Linked DNA regions of Homo sapiens: region 2 is linked to region 1. The links are contacts of gene promoters, found by promoter capture Hi-C in blood cells and fetal thymus (Javierre and others, 2016). All regions are on one chromosome and are shown on one strand. The core of a region is centred on a gene start or on the middle of the fragment in contact, and the rest is flanking DNA. Distances in the headings are between cores, read along the strand shown. Region 1 holds the start of STAU1 (staufen double-stranded RNA binding protein 1). Region 2 overlaps STAU1 (staufen double-stranded RNA binding protein 1).

The links. The method cuts DNA at HindIII sites, captures the fragments that hold promoters and counts their contacts. A CHiCAGO score of 5 or more calls a contact.
Region 2: a fragment that was not itself captured here is called in contact with the fragment with the promoter of STAU1 in region 1 in 2 of 17 cell types (naive CD4 T cells and activated CD4 T cells); the score reaches 5.4 in naive CD4 T cells.

The regions. Positions count from the first base shown.
Region 1 is chr20:49,185,045-49,191,610 of GRCh38, reverse strand. It overlaps STAU1 (staufen double-stranded RNA binding protein 1), which reads left to right and starts at 3,277. Exons shown (of 14, transcript NM_017453.4): 1 at 3,277-3,495. RefSeq lists silencers at 3,004-3,673, 3,904-4,063 and an enhancer at 4,464-4,533. The HindIII fragment of the contact is 4,529 bases long and covers 1-4,451 here.
Region 2 is chr20:49,115,091-49,121,656 of GRCh38, reverse strand. It overlaps STAU1 (staufen double-stranded RNA binding protein 1), which reads left to right. Exons shown (of 14, transcript NM_017453.4): 9 at 1,529-1,675; 10 at 3,249-3,324; 11 at 3,561-3,880; 12 at 4,409-4,531; 13 at 5,790-5,875. Among named protein-coding and RNA genes, the nearest start is that of STAU1, 70 kb to the left of the region's middle. RefSeq lists a silencer at 3,743-3,900. The HindIII fragment of the contact is 1,217 bases long and covers 2,902-4,118 here.

The DNA.
Region 1 (6,566 bases), core at 2,028-4,527:
ATACACCAATCAACCCTACAGGTGTTCCCTGTTTCTTAGGGACTTGCGCAGAGATAAGCAAGGCTGTAATTTTTCAGCAGTCTACGGAAATTTATCATGTACTATTGTGTCCCTGGCACTGTGTTATGGGCCAGGGACCATCATGACTACTAAGACAGGCTGAGTCTCTGCTGTCATGGAAGTTGATCACTTAGTTCTAGCCTAATAGATATACTCAACAGATAATTGAAAATTATAAGGGTGCAAAGTTCTACTAAGAGGCTATGAGAGTGGAACAGATAATTCATCAGAGGTTAACATTCACACTTGTAATCCCAGCACCTTGGGAGGCCGAGGCGGGTGGATCACCTGAGGCCAGGAGTTCGAGACCAGCCTGGCCAACATGGCGAAACCCCGTCTGTACTAAAAACACAAAAATTACAGGGCATGGTGGCAAGCGCCTGTAGTCTCAGCTACTCGGGAGGCTGAGGCAGGAGAATTGCTTGAGCCCGGGAGGTGGAGGTTGCAGTGAGCCGAGATCGCGCCACTGCACTTTAGCCTGGGTGACTGAGGGAGACTCTGTCTCAAAAAAAAAAAATAATTAAAAATAAAAATAAATGTCTCACAGGGCTTTTATGAGCTTTGCATCAGAGAGCCGAGATCACACCATTGCACTTCAGCTTGGGCAACAGAGTGAGATTCTGTCTCAAAAAAAAAAAAAAAAAATTCAGCATCTCACAGGGCTTTTATGAGTTTTGCATGTTCCCATTCCTTAGTACAGATGCACATAATTTATCTTGTGAGAAGGAACACACATAATTTATCGTAACATACTTAATGCTCACAGTTTCTTGTGAACCAAGAACACACAGCTTCCATCTTTTTCTCAAGGTAAAGAAAAATGATTCCTTAATTACTTAGCAAGACTCAAGAGGTCTTCAGGACCTTGGAAGAGAACTTGACTGATAGTTTCTAGGTACAAACAGAAGAAAACAAATCTAGGTGACCTACTCCTGGTCAGGTATGGTGGCCCACACCTGGAATAATCCCCCCAGTACTTTGGAAGATTGAGGCAAGAGGATTGCTTGAGCCTAGAATTTGAGACCAGCCTGGTCAACTTAGTAACTTAGTAAGACCCTGGGCAACTTAGTAAAACCCTGTCTCTATAAAAAATTAAAAAATTAGCTGGGAGTGGTGGCACATGCCTGTGGTCCCAGCTACTCAGGAGGCTGAGGTAGGAGGATTTCTTGAGCTCAGGAGGTTGAGGCTGCAGTTAGCTGTGCTCATGCCACTGCACTCTAGTTAGGTGACAGAGCGAGACCCTGTCTCAAGAAAAAAACAAAAAAGATGCGGAAGGAGGAAAGAGGGAAGAAAATTGAGACTGGAAGTCATAGACCCACCACTTTTGTCCCTATGGGTGATAGCAAAATCACCTTTGACGAGATTGTCTGATTGTGCGCAGCTTTGGGTTTAGGGAGACCTCTCTGCATCTGCTCCTTTACCCAAGGAGGTATGGGATCCACACTGCTTGGAAGTTAGAAAGAAAAGATCACTTTTAGCAGAGGGCTGGACAATATCTGAATGTTGCTTACTACTGTCTTGGATGGGCACTAAAGGGACGGTGAAAGTCCTTTGACTATTTTTGGTGTTCTGAAATTCAGTGTCATTGCACTTCACAAGAAGCAATGTAAGGAGGCAAGTGTCCTCCCAGGCTTCGCTAAGGCTCCAAAGCCTTGTTTGGAGGGGCCTCTTCAGACACAGCAGCTCGTATTTTGAATTTATATTCCGTTGGCAAGAGAGATTGAGCAATTATTAGATTGAGAGACATTTAAGAAAGAGAGAATTATTTTTAAATAGTGGGGCGGCAGTCCCAGAGTGAGCGGGAGAGAGAAGCTCTGTGCACCTGCAGTTCCTTCATTCATTCTCAGTTTCTTGGACCTCTCACAACGCGAGCATAATTTTCGCTGAGTGTGCAGAAGTTCAAGATTCTTTTTTTTTTTTTTTTTTTTTTTGAGACAGAGTCTCACTCTGTTGCCCAGGTTGGAGTGCAATGGCGTGATCTCGGCTCACTGCAACCTCCGTCTCCCGGGTTCAAGAGATTCTCCTGCCTCAGCCTCCCAAGTAGCTGTGATTACAGGCGCCCACCACTGCATCCGGCTAGTAGAGACGGGGTTTCACCATGTTAGTCAGGCTGGTCTCGAACTCCTGACCTCAGGTGATCCGCCCACCTCGGCCTCCCAAAGTGCCGGGATTACAGGCGTGAGCCACTGCGCCTGGCCAAGATTCTTTACTGGCCACCCTCTCTCCAACCTCCCATACAATACAGCTGCTAAAAACCACTTAGTTTATCTAGGTCTGGGTGAAATAAATAGTAATCTGGCACTTCTCGTCTTTTTTTTTTTTTTTTTTTTTTTTTTTTTTTTTTTTTTTGAGACCAGTGTCTCTTTGTCGCCAAGGCTGGAGTGCAGCGGCGCGATCTCAGCTCACTGCAATCTCCGCCTCCCGGGTTCAAGCGATTCTCCTGCCTCAGCCTCCCGAGTAGCTGTTTACCTACAGGCGCCCGCCACCACGCCCGGCTAATTTTTTGTATTTTCAGTAGAGACGGGGGTTTCACCGTGGTAGCCAGGATGGTCTCGATCTCTTGACCTAGTGATCCGCCCGCCTCGGCCTCCCAAAGTGCCGGGATTAGAGGCCTGAGCCAACGCGCCCGGGCCATTGTCTTTTATCTCACTACACATTTTTCAATTTTATTTATTGTGTATTTTACTTACACAAGAATGTAAGCTCCACGAGGGCAGGGATTTTTGTCAGTTCACCACTACATTCTTAGCTCTTGGAGCAATGCCTTGCATATGGCAAGCATTTAATGAACATTTACAGATGGAGGAAGAAACAACTGCAGGAAGGAGAGAAAGGAAGGCCAGAGGCAGGACAAGAGGAAGAAGCGACAGCAAGGAAGGAAAAAGGAAGTGGAGGAGGAAAGAAGGTAGGCTGGGTTCTCCCAGACCCGCTTCGAGTCCAGCAGGCAGCGCGAAACTCCCACCAGAACTACAACTCCCGGCAGGCCCCGGGACTCAGGACGGGCCGCTGCGGTCCAGGCGGGACAGGGCGCTCCTCCCGCTGGGCCCCCGGCGTGCCTTGCGAGCGCAGGCTCCGCCGCAGTGCCAGCCGGAACTTGTGGTTCGGACCGTGGGTGGGGGTGGGGCCGGGGCCGGGCCTGGAGGCGGGCGGGGGCCGGGGGCGGGCGCCTGCCCCTCCCCCGTCACTTCCTGCCGGGCTGCGGGCGCCTGAGCGGCTCTTCAGCGTTTGCGCCGGCGGCTGCCGCGTCTCTCTCGGCTCCCGCTTCCTTTGACCGCCTCCCCCCCCCGGCCCGGCGGCGCCCGCCTCCTCCACGGCCACTCCGCCTCTTCCCTCCCTTCGTCCCTTCTTCCTCTCCCTTTTTTCCTTCTTCCTTCCCCTCCTCGCCGCCACCGCCCAGGACCGCCGGCCGGGGGACGAGCTCGGAGCAGCAGCCAGGTGAGGCGGCCGGGCCGGGCCGGGCCTGGTGGGGCCCTCGCGGGCGCCGCCGCGGTGGGGAGGTGGGCGGCGGGTGGGGCCTAGGCCTCGGCGGGCCCGCGCACCCCTCCGCCTTCTCCCGGGCCTCTCTCTAGCCCGCGGGGCCTTCCCGGAGGAGGCGGGTCCTCTTGCGTTCCCTCGCCTCGGGGCGCCCTGAGGCCTGGCCCCGGGCGCCCCCATCCCCTCCAGCCCTCACCGGTGCCACAAACAGGTGCTGCGGCCGCCTTTCCTCGTCCCGCATGGCGCGCGCGGGGATGCCGAAGTTATTCCCGGGGCTGGGGCGCAGGCGGGGGGGGGGGGGGGTCCCTGCTTCAGGTCCCCGAGGGCTGGAGCCTCTCAGTGTCGCCGGCCCAGGTCTGTAGCTTAGTGGTTAAGAGCACGGCCCAGGTGTCCAAAACGGGTGCCGAACCCGGCTCTGCCCCGTTAGGCAAGACACTTAAAAAGTCTTTGTGTCTTGGTTGGAAAAGGGGCTGCTAATACCGTCCCTGCCTCTTAAGGTTCAGTGAAATGGGGCGTGTAAAGCGCTTATCAGAGTGCCAGACCCACAGCGTGTCCCAGTAAACCGTCTGCATAATTTATTAGCGTGATATGAAGGTATAATTTAATGGGCAGAGTGGATAGAAGTTGACCTACCTATCCGTTTGGGTTTCTTAGAGGCTGCAGTGTTCCGCGTGCCCATGTCCAGAGCCAGGGCATTGTTTTCAGTTGTTAACATCTGAAAGGGGCGTACGCTTAATTGGGACACTGTAGTTGACAGTCTGTAAACGATGGATGCTGTTTCTTTCCATCTCCGCTTAGGCAACTGCAGGATATTCACCATCTCCCGCAGGATGAGCAACCTGTCCATTTCTCCCCGCCCCGCCATCATCCAGCTTCTTCTTGTCATTCCATTTCTGGGAAAGTTGCTGGCAGAAGCTTCCCTTGAGTTGAGCAAACCTATCTAGAGCACTTGCTGTGTGTTGGGCTCTGAAGGGGGGTGTACGGAGATGGAAAAATTTGTCTGTCTTGTCTTGCTCTACACCTCGATAAGTTTTTTTTCACGGAAGCTTTGCTTATATTCACCCCTCCCTGTTGGCTGACTTTCCTTTTAAGCCCTTGCCCCGCCTCCGTGTTGCAGTATTGCTTGTGTGGAAGTTTTCTTCTGTTCCGCGAAGATACGTGCTTCAGTCTGTTCTGCCACTGTTCTTCGGCTGTGTGGAAGTTTTTAAGGTCACACTTCTCTTCTGCTTGTAGCTTTCATTGTTAAGAGCGTGGTGGAGTTAAATCAGGTTCCCGGTTGATTTTGGCGTTTCAGGAATCCGTGCTTACCAAGTGTAAATTGCATTGCTACTTGTTGAGGTAAAAACTAAAAATACAGTTGGAGTGTAGAGGGAGCAGTTTCGGTTATCCTGGTGACAGGTGGGATTTTTAGAACAGCAACTTTACTAAAACATACTGGGTTTTTAAAAATTCTGTACTTAGTTTTATAGGTGTACTCTAAGGAAATGCAACTTATGGGTGTTCAATTTTATATGAGTAAGGAGTGTGTGTTTACCTGAGTGATCCTCCTGTATCTTAGGATTGTTTTAGGCATTAAATTTCCTTAGTGAACTGAAACTATTTTGATTTATACCCATCTCTTAACACACATGCGGCAAAGTGGCCTCCTTGTTTTTGACATTTTCCTAGAATTTTCTGACAGTCTTACCATTGTTTGTAATTTAAAATGTTTGTTTGAATTTTTTTTTTTTTTTGAGACAGTCTCACGCTGTCGCCCAGGCTGGAGTGCAGTGGCGCGATTTCGGCTCATTTCAACCTCTGCCACCCTGGTTCAAAAGATTCTCCCGTCTCAGCCTCCCGAGTAGCTGGGATTACAGACGCCCGCCACCGCGCCGTGTTAATTTTTGTAGTTTTCGTAGAGACGGGGTTTTGCCATGTTGGCCAGACTGGTCTCGAACTCCTAACCTCGTGATCCACCCTCCTAGGCCTCCATAAGCAGGTTAGGCGCGGTGGCTCACGCCTGTAATCCCAGAACTTTTGGGAGGCCGAGGCGGGTGGATCACGAGGTCAGGAGATGGAGACTATCTCTTGAGCCTGGTGTGGTGGCGGGCGCCTGCAGTCCCAGCTACTCCCGAGGCTGAGACAGGAGAATCGCTTGAACCCGGGAGGTGGAGGTTGCCTGGGCGACAGAGAGAGACTCTCTCCAAAAAAACAAAACAAAAAAAACACATAAGCAAACAACTATACAAGCAGTATAAAGCATGTCTAATACTGCCATATCACAATGGCATATTTCAATAGGGAAATGGTATTTTAAATACCATTTTTTAAAAACCTTTTATTCTGGAAAACATGCGAAACTCGAATAGTATGGAGAACCCCATGTGTTAGTCACTCACTTAGCTTTGACAATTATTAACTCATAGCCAAGGTCGGTTTTGTTTCATGTTGTATCCCCCCACACAAACTAGATTATTTTGAAACAAATCTTAAACATTGTGTCACAACATTAGCGATTTTGACTTTTACCAGATTGCCCCAGATTAAGGTCACAAAATTTACTTTTAGTAGAATAATAGTTCTCATTTTTGTTTGTTGGGCTTCCCTTCTCTGTTTATACATGATTTCTGTACAGCAGAAAAGAAGAAGAAAATTAACTCTTGATCCAATGCCTTCAGCTCCTCAAAATCAAAATACAACCTTGCTGCTTTATTGTGTACAAAAGCAAAAATTCTTGAGCTATTAATGACTATAATTGAAAAGCGAACAAATACAGATTTCCCCAGTCCTGTTTTGGCAGAGACCTGCCTTTTAACCCACTTTAATAGAGATAACTTTGTGTCAAAGTTAAACTACAGTTAATAATTCATAATGAAAACTTAAAATGTTTCTTTACAGTAGTTGTGTAAAGATACTGCTGTTACCTTAGGTTAAGAATTAAGCAAAAGATAATCTTCTAACATAGAATTGTTTTCCAAAGTGCCCCCGTCTGCCCTATTTCCAAATAACAAATTTAGCAAATATGAATGAAACCTTAATTTTTGTGAATAGTA
Region 2 (6,566 bases), core at 2,261-4,760, 70 kb after region 1:
ATTTTACTGACAGAAAGGATGTGTAGTACAATTTATAAATAATATACACTTTATTGTAAATTTCATACATATTTCAGTGTGACAGTTACCAACGATAGTGTTATAAAATCAGACAGCACATAATGGTTTATTACTATCCAGTTCAGCAAAGGTGTTGCTCATGTCACTGACAAATACATACTGTAGATTTGAGATTTTGGTTGTAGCATGAATACTGGTTGAGATACATTTTTTTTGGGGTAGAGGGGAATGGAGTCAACTTGCTCTGTTGTCCAGGCTGCAGGGCAGTGGTGTGATCTCGGCTCACTGCAACCTCTGCCTCCCAGGTTCAAGTGATTCTCCTGCCTCAGCCTCCCGAGTAGCTGGGATTCACGGGTGCCCACCATCACGCCCAGCTACTTTTTGTATTTTTAGTAGAGATGGGGTTTCACCATGTTGGCCAGACTGGTCTCGAACTCCTGACCTCAGGTGATCCACCCACCTCAGCCTCCCAAAGTGCTGGGATTACAGGCGTGAGCCACCACGCCCGGCTGGTTGATGTTTTTTATTTATGTTAATAGGTAAGATGAAAGTAAAACAGGCTGGGCTTGATGGCTTACGCCTGTAATCCCAGCATGACGGATCACTTGAGGTCAGGGGTTCGAGACCAGCCTGACCAACATGGTGAACCCTCATTTCTGCTAAAAATAGAAAAGTTAGCCAGGCATGGTGGCACACGCCTGTAATCCCAGCTACTCGGGTGGCTGAGGCAGGAGAATCGCTTGAACCTGGGAAGTGGAGGTTGCAGTGAGCTGAGATCATGCCATTGCACTCCATCCTGGGTGAAGAAGTGAGACCCTGTCTATCCCAAAAAAGAAAAAAGAAAAAGTGAAACAATGAAGACATGTAACATCACTCATTTGTAAATGATATGAGTGGCTTCTCTGCAAAATTAGATAATTTTCAAAGACGGGAAGATATTTCAGTTTTTTGTGCTAGTTACAATGTAATGGCTGCAGACTTCTCATGCTTTTAAGATTAACCTGCTTTATTAACCTTTTCATCATTGTAGGTTTAGAGTTAGACAATAAACAGCTTATGATCTTTGATACGTAGCATTTGTATATTTCTGTGGTATAAATAGTCCCACCATGGCTGATTTCAAGCTCTCAAAGTGATACTTCCAATGGCAATGCTGGGAATAGATGTACAGTAGTTCACCATCACAGACTGTTTCCATTGTACAAATGCAATAGCTGGGCAGACCCTCAGAACACAGATGATTATAAAATGCAGTCAAAAATTACCTCTGTTAAAATAATTATCAGCTTATATAATTAAATGTTTAATACTGGCTGTGTTTAACAGCCAGCTTCCCAAACTCCTGACTATTTAATAATTAGCTCTCAGAGACAAGGAGGCCAGGTTCGGGGCACTGCTGTTATCTTGCTTCTGACCATAGTTGGTTATTTTGCTGACACACCAATTCCTGCCTGGTTGTTATTCTGAAGGTTTAAGCACTGGTCTGTGTTTTGACTTCTTTGTGCAGGTGAAGGTTGGAAACCACACTGCAGAAGGAACGGGCACCAACAAGAAGGTGGCCAAGCGCAATGCAGCCGAGAACATGCTGGAGATCCTTGGTTTCAAAGTCCCGCAGGCGCAGCCCACCAAACCCGCACTCAAGTCAGAGGAGAAGGTGAGTGCTGTGGGCTCTCTGATTGCAAGATGGTCTCTCGCCTCACCCTAGGGAACTGGGGCACCTCCAGGGGCAGGCTTCAAGGCAAGGCTTTATCTGCCTGACAGTTCAAGGAGTCCTGCTGAGGAGTGTCTCATCCATTTGGACCATAATGTGCTCAGAGGGGCCTCGCATGTCCACTGGCCCCAGGAGGCTCTGGGTTAGATCGTTGATTGTGTCAGTATCTTTGTGGTCTGGGGACGCTTTGTGGAGGGCAGCTTGCTCCTCTCTATTTGTAGGATGAGGATGAAGGGTAATTAGGACTGAAATTACTAAGTGTGATTTGCACTCTAGAAATGAAGCCTGTGTGAAAGATTTATAACTGTTAGGCTTTCGTTAATTGTGGAATAGGCTTTGATTTTTCTGGCAAAATAAGACAGTGTGACAGTAGAGACAGGCCAAATCCAAAGTTTAGGTTTGGGATTTCTTTTTTCCTATGTGAGTTAAACATCAGATGAAAATAATCCCCTGTTGAAAAATTCACGGCCAGGTGTGGTGGCTCAAACTTGTAATTTGGGAGGCTGAGGCCTTGAATCCAGGAGTTCAAGACCAGTCTGAGCAACATGATGAAACCCTGTCTCTACAAAAAATTAAAATATCAGCCAGGTATGGTGGCTTGTACCTGTAGCCCGAGCTACAAGGCTGAGATGGGAGGATTGAGCCTTGGAAGGTCAAGGCTGCAGTGAGCTGTGATCATGCCACTGCACTCAGCCTGGGCGACAGACCCTGTCTCAACAACAACAAAAAAGGAACGTAAAAAGAAAAATTCGTGTCTGCCAGAAGTGGTAAGCAGGACCTCAGCAAAAGCCATGGCTGACCTTCTTCTTTCCCATCACTGAATGGTCCTGGTGAGATAAACTTGAAATCAGGCCTGATTCATTCATGTCTGCCAGTCATATTGACAGAAACAGCATCAGTCATGGCCAGTTAATAACTGACTGGGACCCCAGATACCACCAGTATAGATCTTAGACTTGGCTTTAGGGTTTTTCATTTCAGAATCTTGTAGGACATTCAGAGTGTCCTTTGTTACTTCTTAGAAAGGTGATGTTGTGTTAGACAAAATTCTTAGGTAATAACATTTTCCCCGTAAGGGTGTTAATTTTGGAATGTCACCTTATTTTTTAATTGGATATCAGCTCCAGGAAATATTCTTGATTTATTTGTTTAGCTTCAGTCTGAAAGCTTCTTTCCCCACCTTGGTGGGCTCTACCGTCTAGCATCTCTGCTCTTTCTGGTTAAATGCTTCCCGTCTTCCTGTGGGTGCAGAGTGCAGCTCAGCATTCACAGGTTAGTGCACTTTGTTAGATGCTCTTTGTGGGCAGGGGTGTGGGCAGGAGGGTGCATTAGGAGAAGGAGGCAGGCTCTGCCCAGGTGTCTGTCAGGGTGCCAGTGGTCAGGTGGGGCAGGGTTTTTCTGCCGATTGCCACAGTTATTGCTGACTGGACTTTGTGTAGATTTAGACAGCAGGAGCTAATTTTTCAGTGATCTGATTTATGCTCATGGCCTTTTTTTTTTCTTCTTCTTTTTTAAGACACCCATAAAGAAACCAGGGGATGGAAGAAAAGTAACCTTTTTTGAACCTGGCTCTGGGGATGAAAATGGGACTAGTAAGTGTGATCTTAATATCGTCTTCCTCTGAACGTGATTCTGGGATTTGCATGGGTCCTGAATAACAGCAGGAGCCCAGCCAGTGAGGTCCCGCATGCAAAGTGTCTTTATCATTCCCTGATTCCCTGCGCTGCCATGCGTGCCAAGGGGAGGGCCAGCGTGGGGTTTGATGGTGTCATTGCGTTTTTCCAGGCTGTGGATGTGGATTCGTGTTTACCGTGTATGTCCCTCCCAGGTAATAAAGAGGATGAGTTCAGGATGCCTTATCTAAGTCATCAGCAGCTGCCTGCTGGAATTCTTCCCATGGTGCCCGAGGTCGCCCAGGCTGTAGGAGTTAGTCAAGGACATCACACCAAAGATTTTACCAGGGCAGCTCCGAATCCTGCCAAGGCCACGGTAACTGCCATGATAGCCCGAGAGTTGTTGTATGGGGGCACCTCGCCCACAGCCGAGACCATTTTAAAGAATAACATCTCTTCAGGCCACGTACCCCATGGACCTCTCACGAGACCCTCTGAGCAACTGGACTATCTTTCCAGAGTCCAGGGATTCCAGGTAACTGTCTGGCCTGAGCTGTGATGGCTGTGCCTCAGGACAGTCATCTTTTGGCTTCTCTCAGAAAATGAACTTTGAACTTTGTACTTTTTTCTTAAATCAAGTTCTGTCCAGGGATGGGCTGGGGAGCAGTGATGGAAGGGTAGGAGGTATAGAAGTATTGTAAGCATATGTGGTAAGAGAAATATCTTTATCCTTTGGTAGTAAGATTTCAACATGCAAGCCAACCCTAAAAGCTTCTAACCACTAGCAGTGGTTGTAAATTTGGATTTCAAAGAACAGACTCATCGTGCTGACACTTTCTGTCTGGTAGGAAAGGATATGGCTTCTCCCAGTCTTGGGCTTCTGAGCAGACACCTAGGTTCCTGGAAGGTTCTGGGCTGACAGGGCAGGTGTTAGTATGGCCACAGTGGGGCTGAGTTGGAAAAAAGAGCTGGTGATCTTGCTTGTGGGGCCTGGAGCTGCAGCCCTCCAGCCCACTCATACTTGCTGTTCCCTACCTAGCCTCAGCTCTCTTTTCCCCCTTAGGTTGAATACAAAGACTTCCCCAAAAACAACAAGAACGAATTTGTATCTCTTATCAATTGCTCCTCTCAGCCACCTCTGATCAGCCATGGTATCGGCAAGGATGTGGAGTCCTGCCATGATATGGTACGTCACACCTTGGGTGAGGGATTGGGGTGTTGTGTGTTTATGTGGAGCCTGCCTTGGTTCAGCTTGTTACTAGCCTGAGGAAGATGGGAGAAAGATTGTCCCATAGACCTTGAGAGCAATGAATCGTTTGATAGTGTTCATATTTTTGAAGACTTTTTGTCATAGCTGATTGGATCGATTTCTCACTCTTGATCAGAACTCATCAGCTTTAGCCCACCTTTCCCTTCCTTTTCCCTGCTGGCCTGGAGGGGCAACTGGGATCCTGCAGCTCACCCAGAGACTGCACTCACTTCATCTCTCACCAGAACAAGGAATTGCAGGTCCACGTTCTGGCAGCTGTAAAAACCACTTGCTTTGGTCTTCTGTTCAGATGAAATTATTGTTATAAGAAAACTGAGAAAAGGAATTGATCAGATCAACAAATCTAAGTAAACTGTGATGTATTCACTTGATGGGATGTCATGCATGCATGAAATTAATGTCTCTGGGTGGGGTGTGGTGGCTCACACTAATCCCAGCACTGCGGGAGGCTGAGGCAGGCGGATCACCTGAGCTCAGGAGTTCAAGACCAGCCTGGCCAACGTGGTGAAACCCCATCTCTACTAAAAATACAAAAAAAAATTAGCCAGGTGTGGTGGTGGGTGCCTGTAATCCCAGCTACTTGGGAGGCCAAGGCAGGAGAATCGCTTGAACCCGGGAGGTGGAGGTTGCAGTGAGCCAAGATTGCACTACTGCACTCCAGCCTGGGCAGCTGGGTGAGACTGCGTTTCAAAACAAAACAGTGTCTCCGAAGATAATGTAATAAGAAGAAAAATACATGATAGGCCGGGTGTGGAGGCTCACACCTGTAATTCCAGCACTTTGGGAGGCCAAGGTGGAAGGATCGCTTGAGCCTAGGAGTTTGAGACCAGCCTGGGCAACTTAGTGAGACCCTGTCTCTATAGAAAGAAAAATACATGATAGATTTTTGTTAGAAAGCAGGATATAACATTTATACAGTCTGGTTACCACATGGTTAAAAATACTAGAAGGAAAAATATAACATTTTCAGAGGTTATGATTCAGTGAGGTAACTGAATATTTTTTAATTTGTATTTTAAATTAAAAATTCAAAGTTTTATTTAGTAGTACCAGAGTTGAAGAAGTTGCCACCTGTTTGCTGGGCAGCAGGAACTCTCTTGCCTGCCTGACCAGTGTATTATGCTGTGGTCCCAAGCGGTGGCTGTGGCTTTACCCTTCTTTCCATCCCCACTAGGCTGCGCTGAACATCTTAAAGTTGCTGTCTGAGTTGGACCAACAAAGTACAGAGATGCCAAGAACAGGAAACGGACCAATGTCTGTGTGAGTGCACTGATGAAGGGGAAGGCGCTGATGATGGGGAGGCTGCCCCTCGTTTGTGTTGAGTTTACACTATCTGCTGACTCAGCGGGGAAATATTTGCCTGAGTTACTTTCTGGCCCTTTTGCCTGAAAGTTTTCCAGATTCTCTGGGCAGAAAGCTCTACTTTTAAAAGACATTTTGAGGCTGGGAACAGCGGCTCACACCTGTAATCCCAGCACTTTGGGTGGCCAAGGCAGGTGGATCATGAGGTGTCAGGTGTTTAAGACCAGCCTGGCCAAGATGGTGAAACCCTGTCTCTACTAAAAATACAAAAATTAGCCAGGTGTGGTGGCAGGCACCTGTAATCCCAGCTACTTGGGAGGCCGAGGCAGAGAACTGCTTAAAACCTGGGAGGCGGAGGTTGCAGTGAGCCGACATAGCGCCACTGCACTCCAGCCTGGGCGACAGAGCAAGACTCCGTCCCAAAAAAAAACAAAAAAACCTTTTTGAGTTGGTCATACCTTCACATGGTCAGAACTCTGCATTATTTTACAAGGTACAATCTTCCCCTCGGACAGCCCCCATCCCATCCCTCCTATTCTCCCCACCGCCTCCCCCATAGATCACATTTTTACTAGTTTCTCCTGTATCTTTCCTGTATGTTTCTTTATACAAATATAGACATATATTTCTTCCCTCATTTTCTTCCTTT